4 separate regions of the Homo sapiens genome follow, and regions 1, 2 and 4 are each linked to region 3. Evidence: promoter capture Hi-C in 16 types of primary human blood cells and fetal thymus (Javierre and others, 2016). All regions are on one chromosome and are shown on one strand. The core of a region is centred on a gene start or on the middle of the fragment in contact, and the rest is flanking DNA. Distances in the headings are between cores, read along the strand shown.

Region 1 (2,700 bases), core at 113-2,612, 130 kb after region 3:
CCACTGAGTGACATCCCAGCCCCTCACTACTGCCCTGGCTCTGGTCTCTGCTGCTCTGCACATCTGGTTCTCCCTGCCTCCATCACTTCCCTGCAGCCACTCTTCCTCTTCCCCTCCCTCAAACCCCCTCACCTGAGAAGCTGCCCTGATGGCCCCAGCCTGGCTCAGCTGACCCGCCACCCCACTCCTAGGACCTGGGTCCCCGGGGGCCTCTGCTGCTCTCTGCAGGGGTCAAGTTGAGCTGCAATTCCCTGTGCCTCCCTGTGCCCCTCTGGGCTGTGAGCTCCAGGCAGGCAGGATCCTGTGTGCTCCTCCCTCCCTGCACCTCCAGGACCCAGTGAAGGGCCTGGCGTAGAATGGGGCAAGGAAATAGACAAGGAAGAGGGAGGAGAAAGGAGCAGGGCCAGGACTCCCTCCCAGCTCCTCCTCTGTATGTCAGGGCACCACAGGAGATGGTTTCCATGTGGGGAGAGAGAGGGGCTTTTAACTGCAATGCTGAATGTCTAAAACCACAGTCAAGGTACTGGCAACCTCAGCTGGTGGCCAGTGAGATATGAGCTTTGGCCTGGGCTCCCTGTTAAAAGCCCTGATTTGTTTTGGCAGCAGTAAAGCCCTTCCCCAGGATCAGGTGGTGCTGTTGGAGTGGGCTGCCCTCCAGAATTTGCAGGACTCCTTCCCGGAATGGTTTTGTTTCTAGTAATAGCCTGAGCCCCGCTGTTCCTTTTTAGTCACACACCACCGAGCTCAGCCTGCTCTCCCTAGAGCTTCTGCCAATCGGTACATCTGGGCTGATAGGAGGAGAAATTTCAGTTTTCAGAAAGCTGCTGAGATTAGAATGCACCTTAGAAGGCTGGATGATGCCACAGAGGAACGAGGAGAGAGAAAGCATCGTTTGGGGCCGAGAAGGGACTGAGCCCCAGTCACAGCAGAAGCAGACGATGTTGGGATTTGCTTGCTTCCCACAACCCAGAGTCCCCCACCTGCCCACACTCTGGCTTCTCCTCAGGCTGAGGTAGATTTGACACCCGGCACCCCACAGCTCTCTACTACATGGGAGTCCCGGGCTCCCCGCACTGTGCCAGTTACGCAGAGGAGGTGGACTCTGCCCAGAGGACTCCCTGTCCAGCTGGGCAGATGCACTTTTAAAAGACAAATACAGTTTTCCATGACAGCCTTCTAAAGACGAGCTCTGGAGCTGTGTGCCCAAGGCCAGGAGCCTGGACTGAGGCCTTTCCTAGGGGGAGCTGCCCAACTGCTGTAGAGTCAGTAATGCAAAGCCCTGGGAAACTTACCGAAGCCATCTCGAAGCCAAGAGGAGGTCTGGTGCTCCTCTTGTTTGTGGATCAGCTTTTATGCTGAAGGAGAGAATTTCACTTTCACTTTCCTTTTGACACTGTTTCAACCTCACTTAAATACTAAACACTGTTTAAAAGAGACAACTGTTTAAAAAGGAGCTATTTCTCTAGATGGAAGGACTAATCATTTCTTACACAAGCCATGGACTCATTGGTGCTTTAAAGCCACCTTGGGAGCAGCCAGAGTCGAAGGGGAGCCCTGAATTTCTGCCCTTGCTTGAGAAATAAAGGTCTTTTCTTTTTTTTTCTTTTTTGTTTGTTTGTTTGTTTGTTTGTTTGTTTTTTTGAGACAGAGTTTCGCTCTTGTCACCCAGACTGGAGTGCAATGGTGCGATCTCGGCTCATTGCAACCTCTGCCTCCCGGGTTCAAGTGATTCTCCTGCCTCAGCCTCCCAGGTAGCTGGGATTACAGGCACCTGCTGCCATGCCTGGCTCATTTTTCCATATTTAGTAGAGACGGGGTTTCACCATGTTGGCCAGGATGGTCTCGATCTCTTGACCTTGTGATCTGCCTCCCCGTCGGTCTCCCAAAATGCTGGGATTACAGGTGTGAGCCACCGCACCTGGCCAAAATAAAGGTCTCTTCTAAAAAGAACCCTGGGCAGCTCTTCCTACTCCAGGAAGGGGAGGCATTCGGAGGCAGGGAGATGTCAATCCCCAGTGCACCCCATAGGACATTGTCTTGTAAAGACACCCAGAAAATATTGGGCCAGAAGTCTTGGGAGAAGGCCAGAGGGGGTGTTTCATTCCATGGGGATGCCCTGGAGGTGAGGGGTACCTTAGACCATGTGGAGCCTGGGAGCTCATGGCCCCATTAAAATGCATTTGGGTGCAAGAAGCAGAACTAAACTCAAAAGGGCTTCAACAGCCTGGACACCCATTGTCTCGGTAACAGAAAGGCAGGAAGAGGGTGACTCAGGTTGGGTTTAGTGGCTCACCAAGGTCACCAAGGACTCAGCAGGCTGTCTCCATTGCACTGGTCCTGGGTCTGCACTGTTGCCCTGCAGGGACTCCCATGGCTGTAGCAGCCTTGAGTGGCCCATTTTTACCTGGCTATGCCCAAAAGATGGAGGGAAAGATAATTCTCATTTGTCTTTTTTTCAGGGAGTTAAGTCTTTCCCACAGTTCCCCAGATGACCTGTTCCCTTCTCCATTGGCCAGAACTGGGCCATATTTTCACACCCAACCAGAGGCCTAGACAGGTGGATCACTTGAGCCCACGAGTTCAAGACCAGCCTGGCCAACATGGCGAGACCCCGTCTCTGCTAAAAATACAGAAAAAAAAATTAGCCGGGCATGGTGGCATGTGCCTGTACTCTCAGCTACTTGGGAGGCGGAGATGGGA
Region 2 (2,700 bases), core at 37-2,536, 220 kb before region 3:
CAAGACAGGGTGGCTGTGAAGGGCTGGTCCCACGCTGGGTATCCAGGACAGGGAAAGAGAGGAGGTTCTGCTTGTTCAGGAGCCAGAGAAGCAACAAGCACTGGTGCTTGCTCTTTGATCCCCTGCTCCAAAGTCACCAACCCCCTTTTCGGGACTGAACCATCCAACTCAGAGGACTCCAAGTGCTCAATCCTTCCCTTACTTACCCCTGCACCCCTTCTTCTATGCTGTAAGATGTTTCCCACAGCAGGGATGTGAGCCAGGGTAAGGAGGCAAGCCACTGGAAGGAAGCAGAGAAAAGAAAAAGGGAAAAGAGAGGAGAGAGTCTCCAACAGAAATGCTTCTTGGGCCAAGGCCCCAAGTGAGGCAACTTCCTCACCTAGCTTCTTCCCTGAAGGATAAAGAGGTAAGAGTATGCAGTGGCTAATATGGAGAGAGAGTTTCTCTTTTTTGGTTCTGGCTGCACCATTCAGCTTGGCCCTGGGTCTCACCAACAGGATGGCAGGCTGAGGATTAGCTGCCCTGCTGGGCCAACTCAATAGGACCTGGCAAAAGCCACGCTCTCCCCTCTACCACCATCCTCCCTGCTTATAGTAAGACGTGGCACACCAGGCACTCCCAAAGCTCTGGCCTATATCATACTCTAGACAGGCCCTAAAGGATGGAGGAGGTCTGTCAAGAGTAGACCCTATGGCTCTCAAGTAGCCTTTAGAAAGAATAAGGGGTCACCCTGCAAGGCAGTTATTTGGAACCAAAAGGCAAACCAAGTAGTTACTAAGCAGGCCTGATTCAGAAGTAGGGCTGAAACAGCTTTGGGGTCTGCTACTGAGAGGAAGAGAGAAGGCAGGACATGGAGGAGAAAATAAAAAGATAGTTTTGCATCCACTGGGCCTGTCAGGCCCCTTCCGCCTGGGATCTCAGACTCGGCCTAGGTGTGTTGTCAGGCTTGCCCGGAAGACAGCCTCCACCCCGAGAGGCCTGGCGCTGACTCAGGTAGGCAGGGCCCCTGCCCTAATGCTGGAGGCTCCTACCAACAGTTGTCCCATGGAGAAGCTCATGCTTTGGGGCTCTGCATTCAGGGCTGGCTTCAAGTGTCCTTTGGCTTCCCGAGGGCTGAGAAGGAGCCAAACCAGGAGGGGTGATATTCCCTGGCCAGAAGCAGAGTAAGCCAGGCACTATAGAGTTGGGGGAGAAAAGTGTCCCTTGGGCACCAGTCCTGGGCAATGGCCCCAGATCCTAGGCTCCCCCTCACTGTAGCACGGGAGCATCCTCTCTGAGGCCTCAGGCCTCTGCCTCCCACCAGCCCCTCCTCGCCCACTTGTCAAGCTGCTTGTTCTCAGGGGAGACCCTTCTGGTATGTGCCCCCTCTTCCTTTCCTAGTCAATGCCTCTTCCACATCTGGACACCCTTCCCATGAATATTACTATGCTGGACTCAGGCAGGGCGCCCCTTAGCAACTCTCTAAAGATCCTATGTTTGAGATGAGAGGAAAGAAAGAGGAGGAGGCAATCCTAGAGTAAAAAGGGGGACAACATACCCGACTGGAGAAAGGGAAAAGGACTACCAGCGACTTCCATTCAGCAGAGCCCACAGCAGAACCTGTCAGGCAGCGAGGGCAAAGTACAGAGGCCGGGAAGAGCCAGGCCTAGGGCGGGGGCTGCCGGCTCAGCCAGCCACCCTTACTCAGCCAGAGCAGGCGACACCTTCCACCACCTCCTCAGTGAAAAGTAGCTAAGCAGCCAGGCCGAGCGGTTCCTGCCTGGGAACCTGGACGGTGTCGCAACCGAAACCACCACTAGCAGAGAGACTGGGTTTGGCAAGGAGAGCAACAGGGACAAAGCCCCGCTGGCTTCTCAAGGGCCAGAGCCTGGTGGTCAGGAAGCGCGTGCAATTCCAGGACAGCACACCAGAAGCAAGGTGGGAGGGAAGGGGCAGGAGGGGAATAGGGCAGGAAGGGAGACAGAGAAAGAGGCGGGTTTAGATCAACTTCCTTCTCCCCTCCCCCTCCCCCCCTCCCCGGAAGTGGGCAGCCCCACCCTCCCCAAGGTGCTTTGCTGGGTAACAGCTGGCGAGAGGTCGAGGAGACTCACTGCAGCCACGGCTGTCATAAAACCCTAGCTCACCTGTGGCAGGTGGGACCTGGGTAGGGGCAGATGACTTTAACAAAGCCTCCAATAGGGCTGGGGAGGAACATGTGTGACTCAGATGTGCTGACCCAGAGTGGCGGCCCTGCCAAAGACCAGCAAACCACCCCCTCAAGAACGAAGTGGGGAGGAGGGTAAGCAGAAACCAGCAAGCTGACAGTGGCGGACGGACCTCCTACTTCCTAAAAAAGCAGTGCTTAACCTTGGAAACATGCACATTCCACTTAGACACAAAATATTTTGAGCATAATTTCAGGGAGTTTGGGGACTCTGTAAAGCCCCCTATGAGGTGTATGTTTTCTAGATTAAGAGCCTTTATCACTGATAGAGCATTCTATCAATGAAAAAATCATATTTAATCCTAGATTTTGCCCAAAAGCTAGAAACAATCCAAATGTCCCTTTTAAGTTCCTTCCAGCCCTGCTTCTGAACGTTCATCCCTAGGTTCTCACTCACCTCCAAGTTTCCAGTCACCAATCCCCTGCCTTACCTTCAAAACAACACTGCTTTCTCAAGGAATTCCAAAGGCCTGGGATTCCTCACACCTTCCTCCTGC
Region 3 (2,700 bases), core at 180-2,679:
GAAAGGTAAAACATAAGTCAGATAGTAGCAGGAAGTCTTTTTTTTTTTTTTTTTTTTTGAGATGGAGTCTTGCTCTTTCTCCCAGGCTGGAGTGCAGTGGTGCCATCTCCACTCAATGCAACCTCTCCTGCCTCAGCCTCCCGAGTAGCTGGGATTACAGGCGCCTGCCACCACGCCTGGTTAATTTTTTGTATTTTTAGAAGAGATGGGGTTTCACCATGTTAGCCTGGCTGGTCTTGAACTCCCGACCTCAGGTGATCCAACCACCTCAGCCTCCCAAAGTGCTGGGATTACAGGCGTGAGCCACCGCGCCTGGCCAAGTGGTATGAAGTCTTTTGGAGAAAAGTAATGCAGGGAAAAGGAGCAGAGAATGCTGGGATGTGCGTGCAAGTTTTTTTTTTTTTTTTTTGATGGAGTTTTGCTCCTGTTGCCTACGCTGGTGTGCAATGGTGCGATCTCGGCTCACTGCAACCTCCGCCTCCTGGGTTCAAGCGATTCTCCTGTTCAGCCTCTGGACTAGCTGGGATTACAAGCGTGCGCCACTACGCCTGGCTAATTTCGTATTTTTAGTAGAGACGGGGATTCTCCATGTTGGTCAGGCTGGTCTCGAACGCCCACGACCTCAGGTGATCCACCCGCCTCGGCCTCCCAAAGTGCTGGGATTACAGGCGTGAGGCACGGCGCCCGGCCTGGACTTCTTACATTAGCTATCAGAGCGGTGATGGTGCGCATCAGCCATGGCCAGGGACAGGAATATAGGGAGATGATAATAAAGGTGGTAATGAAGTCACGGCCACCTGCCCTTATGAAGTCAAAATCATTAAAGACCCAGTGACGTTCATGCCATCCAGGGTTGAGGCCTCTCTTCTGCCCACCTGTGGTCCCAGGCCTAGTTAAACACCAAAGCTGTCTCTCACACTGGTGGTTCCAGGATAAAGCCTCGGCCTGGGGCCTGGTCTGCACGTTAGGCGCCGGCCGCAGCTCGCAGGAGGACCCGAGCCAGCCCGCCCCTTCCCGCACAGCCTGCTGGGAGTTGTAGTTCAGTCGTCGGAGAACCACGCCAAGCCCCGCCCCAGATGAGTGCGCAGTATGAGGACCGCTGGCCGGGACCCAGTGAGCGCGGGACTACAATTCCCAAAGGACGGTAGCACTCAGCGCCCCGCCAACAGGTACCCGGCGGCTCGCTTCGCGCACACGCGGCAGGCGGTGGCGGGATTCTGCCGCGTGCGCTTTCCCGCCCCGCCTCGCCTAGCCTCGTCCTGCGCTCGCCACGCCTCGGGCTGTCCGTTGGGCCACGCAGACCGCGCTGCGCTCGCTCCGTCGCGGCTCCGCGTGCCCCACCTTCTGGCTAGTTTTTTCTAGAGCCCAGGCTCCGCCCGTTTCCCGCTTCCAGGGCCCGGTTCGTTCCCGCCCGCACCCGTCCCTCTCCTCTGCACCCCTGCTGCTTCTGCTTTGAAGGCGGAGGCTCCATGTTGTCCCCTCAGCGAGTGGCAGCAGCTGCCTCAAGAGGAGCAGGTGAGGCGCCGATTTTCCCTGGATCGCCCCGCGGCCACCCCCGCCGCCTTCCCTGCTGTAGTTCTGAAAAGAACCCCCGCCCGCGCCGCCGCCCTTCCTCGTCCCGGGGCTGGGACCGCGCGTCCCTCGCCGGGGTCACTCGGTTTCCGAATTTGTGGTGGGGGGGCCCCTCTTCGGGCCCAGCTGGTCCAGCGAGGGCGGCACCTTCCTTACTTTTCGGCCGGGGGCGGCCGCCGTCAGGGCTCGGGCCCTGGTGCCGCCGGGGGCTCCTCCAGCTCCTCCCCTGGGCTGCAGCTGCCCCTGGGCGGCCCAAGGGCCGGTGGTCCCCGTGGGCGGCGTCCGGAGCTTCGGCCCCGCCGAGCCCCGCCCTGGGCAGAGCCGGGCGCCCCAGGGCGCTGCCCCTCCGTGCCCGGGCACTCAGCGCCCTCTCTGGTCGGAGAATCGGGGCCTGGATGGAGCGGGAAGGTGAATGCTGGTTTATTTGGCCTTTCTGGAAGTGCTGGAAGGCTGCGAAGTGTCTTGGAAGCTTTATTTTTATCCTAACGACCTTGAGGCACTGACCACAAGTATTAGGAAAGTTGGTTTTCAACCCATACTTAACGCTGTAAAGAATTGGTCTAAATTGGTTTTTCGTAAGTTAGTGCTTTTGGCACAGTACGTTGTTCTTTTGCTTTCCCGAAGACATGAAACATAGTGAAAGTATTAAAAACCAAATAAGGAGTCACCGTGTATTCACGGATCTGATTTAGTCTGTCATTTTACTTGGCTTTATTCTAGTGTAATGTGTGTGCTGTTGAAATGACCGTTTCACTTGCGAAATCGAAGAGCAAAAAGGAAAAGAACAGTGAAGAATTTTTAAATGAGTCTCAGTTCTCAAATTCAAATACGAAGCAATGGAACGTTTTGTCAGTCTTAGAATAACGGACCAAAAATGTACGATTTCACATATTGGCTTACTTTTGGAGATTTAAGAAGCATAACCTACGGAGTACTAATCCCTGTCAAGAATTTAGCATTGCAACATAGGTACTGAAATTCAAATTAGTGCTTTTTTTTTTCCATTCCCACAGAGATTAGCTTGTACTCCAGAAATTCCTGTTGCCGCTCTAACACCTGTAAACACTTGGCTGAGAAGGATCTCAGTATTGCAGTAGTCCAGCACATTGTTTTATTATTATTTTTTGA
Region 4 (2,700 bases), core at 31-2,530, 250 kb before region 3:
CATGTGGCTCGACGGCGCAGCAGCCGGGTGGGGTCGAGCCTGGCTTTCCCTGGCTGTCCGCAGGAGTCCCCGGGAACAAGCGGCCCCAGCCGGGTCGTGGCCCGACCGCAACACCCCGGCCACTCGGCCGCAGGCAGCGGGTGGGGGCAGGGATCCCTGGCTGGGCCCTAGGCTGCTTCTAAATTTAGGAATCTGATTACAGAGTGGACCAGGAAGGGAAGGGAGAGGAGGGCGCGAGTGCGGGCTCGGCTCAGTCTGGGCACAGCGGGGTGTGCCTGGGTGGAGGTGTGTCCAGGAGACTGGGGCTCCGGGTGGGAGGGGCGGCGGGCGGGGGCTTCAGCTTGTGTGCGCTGCAGCACGTGCCCCGGGCGGCGGGGACGGGCACGGGCGCAGCTCGCAGGCTCGGAGCCGCCGCCGGTGTGTGCGCTGGCTCTTTGTGTGCCTGGCAGGGTGGCTGGGTCTGGCTTTGAAAGTCTCTGCCCACCCCCTCCCCCATCTCCGTCTGTGCCGCTCTACCCGCTTCCCTGTCTGTCACTCTGCCCGTGCTTGTCCGGGGGGAGGGGGATGCTGCTTCCAGCTGGGGTGACAGTGAACCCAGTGGGGAGGAGACCCAGCTCCTCTCTCCCCTGCAGCCCAGACCTTCCCCTACACCTCCCACTCCCCATCCCTCAGCCCTTGCTACCACTGTTTAGGGGTGCATACTGCAGCAGTTAAAGGGAATTGGGGCGACCCTTGGGGACCCACAGATCCACCAGAAGCCAGCCTCTGGCTGGGTAGCTCTTGGAGGAATTCATTCCTTGCCTGTCCAGCCTCCCATCCGTTCTGGCCCCCAAGGGCGCATAAGGGGGGTCCCCCCTGCGGAAGGGGGGGCGGGGAGTTCCTTGGCAGGAAGGGAAATGGAAGGAAAAGCTGGGCTCCACCCGGGCGGGCGGGCAGGCGGCCCCAGGGCCCCCGGGGCAGGCGGCAGTAACCCGAGCCCACTGGTGTGTGGTGTTGGTGTGCGCGTGGGTGGGGCTGACCCCTGGCTACTCCTGGGGGGCAGTGGGGTCTCCCCCAGGGGCAAGTCTGGGAGCCCAGGGACGCGAGGGGAGCCCCCGCAGCGGGACGCGCGCCCCACCAGGGTCCTGATCCCACCCCCTGGAGGTCTGGCCCCGGCCCCCTGGCCCCGCCCCCCGGGCCCTCCCTCCCACCCCAGGGCCAGATGTTCAGCTGGCGGAGGCATCGGCTGGGGGAGGGGTGCTGAGGCCGCAGCCGGCACTACTTCCCTGCCAGCAGCTTCATTGTGTGCGCGAGGAGCGAGCGGCGGCGGAGAGCGGGCGAGCAAGCGGCATCCCGAGCGCGGCGGGGAGAGCGAGCGCGCCGGGGAGGGTGCGAGGCGGCACCCGCGGCTGCGCTCCGCCCGCCTCCCGGCAACTCTGCCCAGCGCCGCGCGCCGTGCGCGCCGTCCCGCCGCCGTCGCCGCCGCCGCCGCCGCCGGTGCCCCGGCCGGCTGCCGTCGCGGGCAGGGGTCTGCTTAGGACACGGGTCCCCGCCCGGGGACTGGGGCATCCCCGGCGCAGCTGAGAGGCGCAGAGCCCGGGGGGCGCAGATTGCGCTCCAGCGCCCAGCCGCTGAACGGCGTGGGCAGGTGGGCGGTGGGGTTCCAGGGCGCCCCGAGGACAGGGGGCCCCGACTTCAGGGGAACCCCAACCCTGAGGGGCGTACATAGTAATCACGCCCCAGCCGCACCGGACCTTGCGCTCATCCCTTGCGTCCCCCACTTCTGCACAAACTTTTCTGACGCCCTGGCTCGTGGGGGTCGTGGAGAGCGCTGGGGCTACCAGGTGGGCTCCCACCCCGCCGGACCCTAGCCACGCTGACCTCCTGCCTCTCCTAACCTCAGTGGCGACCTCTCCAGGCCGGGCCGGGCTCGGCACTCGGAGCGAGTGCGGCAACCACTGTCGCTCTCCGAAGGCTCCTGCGCCCCCCGGGGCAGCTGGGCGGGGTAATGCCCTCAGTGATGGAGAAGCCGAGCGCGGGCTCTGGGATCCTGTCCCGTAGCCGGGCCAAGACGGTGCCCAACGGCGGACAGCCCCACTCGGAGGATGACAGCAGCGAGGAGGAGCACTCGCACGGTGAGCCCGGTGGCCTAGGGTTAAAGGCGCGCCGGCCTGGGGGGAGCGGAGTGGGGCGGGAGGGGGAAGAGTTGCAGACCACGAGCCTGTTACACTGATGGCTCCTGCCTCTCCTGGATTGGAGCCTCTGCGTTGCTTCTCCCACAAACCCAGGCTGCCGGCACAGCCAATCTGGAACCTGGGCCCCTAGCTGCTGTGGAGGCGTCCTGCCGGCCCCTGCCCTGCCCTCACCCCCTCAGGGACCGAGGCATCCCTCCCTTGCATAGAGTGGGTCCCTCATACCTTGCCACCTTGCAGGGGACTGAGGTCTGGCTGGAGCAGGGACTGGAGAGACACCTCCACACAGAGCTGTGAGGCTCCTGTGGTGGGAAGGAGCCTTGGGTTCCTTGCAGGGCTGTGGTCCAGGTCTAGGGGCTGCCCTCCAACCCCGCTCCCCTCCCCCGGAACAAAGCACCCTGCTTGGCCTGGGCTCTAAAACTGTCCCCTTGTCCACCCTCCAGCCCCAATGGCCATGGCTGGACAGGGTCTTTTCCTCTTCCAGTCCCTTCTGTGGCTGCAGGTAACTGGGGTACAATGAGGGAAAAGT

What was found. The method cuts DNA at HindIII sites, captures the fragments that hold promoters and counts their contacts. A CHiCAGO score of 5 or more calls a contact.
Region 1: a contact is called between the fragment with the promoter of PLAAT4 here and the fragment with the promoter of ATL3 in region 3, in 6 of 17 cell types (total CD4 T cells, non-activated CD4 T cells, naive CD8 T cells and 3 more). The highest score is 8.7, in total CD4 T cells.
Region 2: a contact is called between a fragment that was not itself captured here and the fragment with the promoter of ATL3 in region 3, in 1 of 17 cell types (neutrophils). The highest score is 6.2, in neutrophils.
Region 4: a contact is called between the fragment with the promoter of RCOR2 here and the fragment with the promoter of ATL3 in region 3, in 4 of 17 cell types (M0 macrophages, fetal thymus, total CD4 T cells and 1 more). The highest score is 10.9, in M0 macrophages.

The regions. Positions count from the first base shown.
Region 1 is chr11:63,535,470-63,538,169 of GRCh38, reverse strand. It overlaps PLAAT4 (phospholipase A and acyltransferase 4), which reads right to left and starts at 1,362. Exons shown (of 4, transcript NM_004585.5): 1 at 1,293-1,362. The coding sequence starts at 1,301. RefSeq lists an enhancer at 1,414-1,463. The HindIII fragment of the contact is 4,349 bases long and covers 1-2,700 here.
Region 2 is chr11:63,887,802-63,890,501 of GRCh38, reverse strand. All of the region lies in intron 1 of MARK2 (microtubule affinity regulating kinase 2), which reads right to left. Among named protein-coding and RNA genes, the nearest start is that of RCOR2, 28 kb to the left of the region's middle. RefSeq lists an enhancer at 1,876-1,985. The HindIII fragment of the contact is 3,301 bases long and covers 1-2,700 here.
Region 3 is chr11:63,670,105-63,672,804 of GRCh38, reverse strand. ATL3 (atlastin GTPase 3) reads left to right here and starts at 1,429. Exons shown (of 13, transcript NM_015459.5): 1 at 1,429-1,515. The coding sequence starts at 1,470. RefSeq lists enhancers at 913-1,022, 1,063-1,562, 1,563-2,064 and silencers at 1,113-1,232, 1,553-1,612, 1,643-1,902. The HindIII fragment of the contact is 2,416 bases long and covers 1-2,043 here.
Region 4 is chr11:63,915,744-63,918,443 of GRCh38, reverse strand. It overlaps RCOR2 (REST corepressor 2), which reads left to right and starts at 1,280. Exons shown (of 12, transcript NM_173587.4): 1 at 1,280-2,114. The coding sequence starts at 1,988. RefSeq lists silencers at 402-451, 1,129-1,188, 1,329-1,448 and an enhancer at 1,540-2,203. The HindIII fragment of the contact is 18,401 bases long and covers 1-2,700 here.